Regions from separate parts of the Homo sapiens genome. Here region 1 is linked to region 2. The links are contacts of gene promoters, found by promoter capture Hi-C in blood cells and fetal thymus (Javierre and others, 2016). All regions are on one chromosome and are shown on one strand. The core of a region is centred on a gene start or on the middle of the fragment in contact, and the rest is flanking DNA. Distances in the headings are between cores, read along the strand shown.

Region 1 (3,262 bases), core at 682-3,181, 2.1 Mb before region 2:
GACATGAACCCAGGAGGTGGAGCTTGCAGTGAGCTGAGATCTCACCACTGCACTCCAGCCTGGGCAACAGAGTGAAACTCCATCTCAAAAAAAAAAAGGACTGTAGAACTTCTCGACTTGAAGCAGTCAGACGTATGGGCTGACAACAATGTAATAGACAATAGGTCCCCTGATCCAAGTCCAAAGGTCAATGAATATTCTTTTGAGGGAAAATGGGGTCAGAATTCGGGTACAAAAAGCACTGTTCCAACCTTGGTCCTCCAATTTGCCACTGCCTACTCTAAAACTGTTGTGCTCCAGTGCCATTTTCAAGGAATTTATCTTGCTGGGACAACTCCAAGCCCAGAAATATGCTAATTGGTGCCTGGTCTCTGAACTCAAAATACACCCCTAACCTAAGACCCACTCGCAGATGCAAAGACAACTGTGGGCATGCTGGTAAGGAGCCACTAAAATCGAGCAGCCCTGGGCCCTTTTTTCTGTGGCTAAAAAGAGGCAGGAAATGAGTGTGAGCAAAACTGCTATGTTAGTAAGCACAATTAAATCTGATAAGCAGAGTTCCATGGGTGATTGGGCACCCTGGAAAGAAGAGGACACTAGAACCATAGGGGATGCCCTAGGGAGAGTGCTCACTAGGTGATGACTAGGGGTGCAGGCACTCCTATGTTCTCCTTTCAGATAGGAGACGTTCCCTCAAAAGCTAAGCCACTCCTAAGGTGTAGTCTGGATAATTGGGACCAATTAGACCCTCAAATGCTGAAGAAGAAGCGACTTATATTTTTCTGCAGCACCACCCGGCCACAATATCCTCTTCCTGGAGGAGAGACATGGCCACCCAAGGGAAGTATAAACTATAATACCATCCTACAGCTAGATCTCTTTTGTAAAAGAGAGGGCAAATGGAGTGAAGTGCCATATGTACAGGTTTTTTCTCACTAACGGAAAACCCACAATTATGTAAAAAATGTAATATATATATCCTACCGGGGATCCTCAAAGCCTACCCCCATACCCAGGGCTCCCCACGGCTCCCCCTCTGACTAGTAAGGACTCTCCTTTGGCCCTAACGGCCCAAAAGGAACCAGACCCAAAGATAGTCAAGTAACCAAAAGGCGCCAATGGCCCTCGATTGTGCCCCCTCCAAGCCATGGGAGGAGGAGGAGACTTTGGCCTGGTGTGAGTACATGTCCCCTTTTCCCTCTCAGACTTAAAACAGATCAAACTGAACGGAGAAAAATTCTCAGATAATCCTGATGGATGCATAGATGTCTTACAAGGATTAGGACAATCTTTTAGTTTAGCATGGAGAGATATTATGTTGTTGTTAGGTCAAACATTAACTCCCAACAAAAAACAGGCCACCTTAGTTGCAGCCCAGGAGTTTGGGGATCTCTGGTACCTAAGCCAGGTAAATGATAAAATGACATCAGAAGAAAGGGAACAACTCCCCACAGGCCAACAGGCAGTTCCCAGTGTGGATCCCCACTGGGACCTCAACTCGGAGCATGGAGACTTGAGTCTCAGGCATTTACTGACTTGTATAGTAGAGGGATTAAGAAAGACCAGAAAAAAGCCAATGAATTACTCAGTGATGGCCACCATAACAGAGGAAAAGGAAGAAAACCCTACGGCATTTTTAGAGAGGCTAAGGGAGGCATTAAGAAAGCATACCTCCTTGTCACCTGACTCTGTTGAAGGCCAACTAATTTTAAAGGGTAAGTTTATTACTCAGTCAGCTGCACACATTAGAAAAGAACTTCAAAAGTCTGCCCTGGGCCCTGAGCAAAATTTGAAAACTCGATTGAATTTGGCAACTTCAGTATTTTATAATAGGGATCAGGAGGATCAGGCTGAGTGAGACAGATGAGACAAGAAAAAGGCCGTCACCTTAGTCATGACCCTCAGGCAGATGAACTTCAGTGGCTCTGAAAGAAAGAAGGGCTGGGCAGGCAACCCGCCTAACAGGGCTTGTTATCAGTGCAGCTTACAGGGGTACTTCAAAAAGGACCGCCCAAACAAAAATAAGCTGCCCCCTCTTCTATGTCCCTTGTGCCAGAGGGATCACTGGAAGGCACACTGCCCCCGAAGGCGAAAGTCCTCTGGGCCAGAGGCCACTACCCAGATGGTCCAACAACAGGACTGAGGGTGCCCGGGACAGGTGCCAGCCCATGCCATCACCCTCACAGAGCCCCGGCTAAGTGTAACCATTGAGGGCCAGGAAACTAACTTCCTCCTGGACACTGGTGCGGCCTTCTCAGTTTTACTCTTCTGTCCTGGTCAGTATCTTCCTGGTCTGTCACCATCAAAGGGGTCCTAGGACAGCCAGTCACTAGGCATTTCTCCTACCCCCTAAGTTGTGACTGGGGAACCTTATTTTTCTCACATGCCTTTCTTATGCCTGAGAGCCCTACCCCTTTACTAGGGAGGGACATATCAGCTAAAGCAAGGGCCATTCAAACCCTTAGCACACCCAGTCCCTACAAAGGATTAGACCTCTCAAAGCTACACAAAACTCTTCACACTCACTCCTTCTTGCTAAATTTATTTAATGTCACCCTTACCGAAATTCGCAAGGCCTCCAGCCAAAATCCAGCTGACTGCTTGATGTGCCTCCCCTTATGCTTTAAACCATCCGTCCCAGTACCTGTTCCCGAACATTGGAATGCCACCGAACTGAGAACAAACACCACAGGGAAGACATTGAACATTCTTAATAAAAAGAAGTGATAAATGTTTTAAATAATGAATGTGCTATTACTGTGATCAAAACATGACTATGTACTCCATGAATATGCATAGTTATTAATATTATTAATATTATTTAACAATAACATAAATTAAAAGTACATTAATCTAAGGTTAATTTATTATTGAAAAAAGAATATTTAAAATAAATTTAGAGTAGCCTAAGTGTACTGTGCATATAAAAACTATGGGTAGTGTACAGTTAGGTTCTAGGACTTTGCATTCGCTCATCACTCACTCACTGACTCACCCAGAGCAATTTTCAATCTGGCAAACTCCATTCTTGGTAACGGCCCTATACAGGTGTATCATTTTTTATCTTTTAAATATGTACCTTATCTATGTTTAGATATATTTTGATACCCAAATATTTACCATCATGTTACAGTTGCTTTTGGTATTTAGTACAGTAACATGCTGTACAGATTTGTAGCTCGGGAGCTATAGGCTATACCATATAGCCTAAGTGTGTAGTAGGCTATACCATCTAAGTTTGTGTAAGTACACTTTATGACAT
Region 2 (3,115 bases), core at 150-2,649:
ACATACAAGCAGTAAAGTGCAGACACCTGCAGTGAATGTACAGATCAATGGATTCCACGTGTGTATACACAGAGGTTTACAATGGCCACCCAGAGGAGCGTTACAGAACATTCCCCTAGAGACTCCCTTGACGCAGGGAATTTAATTGCCCTCCCTTCCATCCTGTGCAGGCAGGCTGGTTGCCAGTAAAGGGATATGAGATGCCCTGATGCATCCGCAGACAGAACCCTTAGTATGGGGGGGAAGGACCTGTCATTCTAGAGTAAAAGTAAGACCAGGAAGATTAAAGAAGACAAAAATTTAAAAATGCAAATGGTGAAAAGCATAAACAACTATTTTCCTCTCTCCCCACACTCACCCAGAAGCACCGGGGCCAAAGAGAGGGCATGGGAGGTCTCAGGATCCCCTGCCGCCCCACCACTGCCCTGATGCCCGCTTGTGACGCAGAGACCGGAGTGGCTCTGAAATTACTGTCTTCAAAGCAGGCCAAACCTTGCTTGACACGTGCAAAGTTCCAATCTCTTGCTTCTCAGCTCCCCGCACGCGCGGGCCAACGTGCACTTCTGAGCCAGATCACCTAGCCACAAGGAGGGGGAGAGAGGGGGAGATAGGAGGAGAGAGGGGAAGATAGGGGGAGAGACGGGGGAGAGAGAGGGAGAGGCAGAGAGAGAGAGAGAGACAGAGAAGAGAAAGGAAGCACCTGAGACAGAGAGAAAGAAGAGAGAGAAAGGAAGCAGCTTCCCCCAACGCTGCGGCCTTGTGTTTCCTCCCGTGTCAAACGAGAGGGCCCCAAATTGACCCCAAATGTTTTTTCTTCCTTTCTCAATCCAACATTTATACCAGCACGTTATTTCCAGGATGCCCAGGACCTCTGCTATGGTTGTGCTGCTGTCCCTGCAAAGGCGCTGGGGATGGCCGAGGTGGGGGATGTCTCTGGGGGCTGAAATACGCTGCCAGGGGAAGGGGCGCCCCGATACCACCCTCAGTGGCTGCTGGTTGGGCGACCGGTGGCCCTGGCTTGAGAAAGTGAAAATGTCCAATCTATTTTGCCTGGAGCCTTGGGTCTCTTTTGGATACGGAACCGAGCAGCAGTCCTCCACTTCGCCCTCTCCCGCCGCTGCAAGGGAAAAGGTCGTTTTCCTCGAGTCCCGGAGAGGCCCTCCAGGAACCCAGAGCCCCCCGGGGACACCGCCCAGCTCCCGGCGCCCGGCCCCGCCCCTGCGCGAACTCGGCCGCACCCACTTTCCCGGGCGGCTCCCCCTCCGTGGCCTGTGGCGTCACAAGGCCCCCAGCCGCCTGTGCCCCGCGGTGCGCGCCCCGCTCCGGGACCTGCCGCCACCGCCGCCCCGCCCTCGGCGGCACCCACACCCAGGCGCGCCCGCGCGCGCGCCCGGCCCCGTCCCTGTCTGGAAGCACAGCTGAAGATGGCGAGCCCGGCGCCTCCGGAGCACGCCGAGGAGGGATGCCCGGCTCCTGCCGCCGAGGAGCAGGCGCCGCCGTCGCCGCCACCGCCCCAGGCATCCCCCGCAGAGCGGCAGCAGCAGGAGGAGGAAGCGCAGGAAGCTGGGGCGGCGGAGGGCGCGGGGTTGCAGGTGGAGGAGGCCGCGGGCCGGGCGGCGGCCGCGGTAACCTGGCTGCTCGGGGAGCCGGTGCTGTGGCTGGGCTGCCGCGCCGACGAGCTGCTGAGCTGGAAGAGGCCGCTGCGGAGCCTGCTCGGCTTCGTCGCTGCCAACCTGCTGTTCTGGTGAGAGCTTGGGCAAGGTGGGGGCGCTGAGGAGGGCAGGTGACCTTGGGGCGCCCGGGGCCCCGGGGACCCAGTGCAGGGGGAGCCCGCGGGACACTGCGGAGGAAGAATTGTCAGCCCTGCCCCACTTTCTCGGCCACCTGTCTCGAACAGGTAGACACTCACCGCAACTTTCCTCCGGACGCACGTCCCTGTGAGCAGTTGTCGTTCTCCGTGTGCGGATCCAGCCTCAGATGCGAGGTGGTCGGCCGACCCTCAGGCACCTGCACCTACAGGTGTTCCCATCGTGCTTGAAAACTTCGCCCCTGCTTTCTAAAACTCTGAGGTCTTGACCTGCTCGCCCAAGCTTGCCGGAGCAAACGTGCTTGAACGTGTCTTGGTTCTTGCAGCCCCAGCAGGCATATCTGGACCAGATTAGGTACCCGTTCAAAACGGTGCCGCATTCATCAGTCACCTGAGATGGGCCCTGAATGATTTGTTTTTTCCTTCCCCTGGAGCGTTAGGTTTACTGTGTTTACTCCCTGATGAGAAAACGGGAGGCAAACAAGCAGGTGGAGTATGCCCAGCACCCACCCCCGGGTGTGCACAGTGTGGAAAACAGGCATATTTTTAGGTGAAGTACAGGGAGAACACACGGGAATGCTCAGCCCCTGAGCAACAGGTTTGTCTCTCCAAAAAGCGCTCTTCAGAAAGGCCAGGGAAATGTCTGTCTCCTTCGTTGAAAGTGGTGTCCTGTCATCCGTTACCACGCTATTGAGGGCGGAGAAAAACCTTCTTTGTTTGCTAAGTGTCCTCATAACAAACATGACCTACACAGTGCAGAATAATCAGACTCCGGTAACAGATACCTTGTTACAGGACAGAGATTTCTGAACCTTAAAGTTGAGAAATAAATAAATTGCACAAAATAGACAGCCTGTCATTTTCTAGGTTAACTTGAGCAAGATGAATATTTTCCTCAGATCTCTGCTAGTCCTGGTGTTTTCTCTTAAAACTAGCTGTATCTTGTCGGAGGTCCCTGAAAGTGAATTAACTTTGGATCTCTTAGGTATCTGTGTTTGGAATAGAGTTTATTCCAAATCTATCTTATTATGGAGTGAATGCGAGCACTCAAATAAGAAGGACATATTGTCTTATGCTAGATTGGGCAATAGTCTAATAGTCTTAGGGCTGTGTCTCACTAATGTTTACGATGTTTTTAACATTTTATTTCTTTTTCTTTTCTTTCTTTCTTTCTTTTTTTTTTTTTTTTGAGATGGAGTCTCACTCTGTCGCCCAGGCTGGAGTGCAGTGGCGCGATCTCGGCTCGCTGCAAGCTCTGCCTCCCGGGTTCACGCCATTCTCCTGCCTCAGCCTCCCGAGTAGCTGGGA

The links. Contacts are between HindIII fragments. The CHiCAGO score rates a contact against its expected background, and 5 or more counts as called.
Region 1: a fragment that was not itself captured here is called in contact with the fragment with the promoter of RETREG1 in region 2 in 1 of 17 cell types (activated CD4 T cells); the score reaches 6.2 in activated CD4 T cells.

What each region holds. Positions count from the first base shown.
Region 1 is chr5:18,741,873-18,745,134 of GRCh38, reverse strand. The region is part of intron 1 of LINC02100 (long intergenic non-protein coding RNA 2100); the gene reads left to right. Among named protein-coding and RNA genes, the nearest start is that of LINC02100, 2.7 kb to the left of the region's middle. RefSeq lists an enhancer at 48-177. The HindIII fragment of the contact is 6,048 bases long and covers 1-3,262 here.
Region 2 is chr5:16,615,281-16,618,395 of GRCh38, reverse strand. It overlaps RETREG1 (reticulophagy regulator 1), which reads left to right and starts at 1,399. Exons shown (of 9, transcript NM_001034850.3): 1 at 1,399-1,744. The coding sequence starts at 1,425. RETREG1-AS1 (RETREG1 antisense RNA 1) reads right to left here and starts at 2,470. Exons shown (of 4, transcript NR_109946.1): 1 at 1,910-2,470. RefSeq lists a silencer at 1,156-1,645. The HindIII fragment of the contact is 3,701 bases long and covers 1-2,092 here.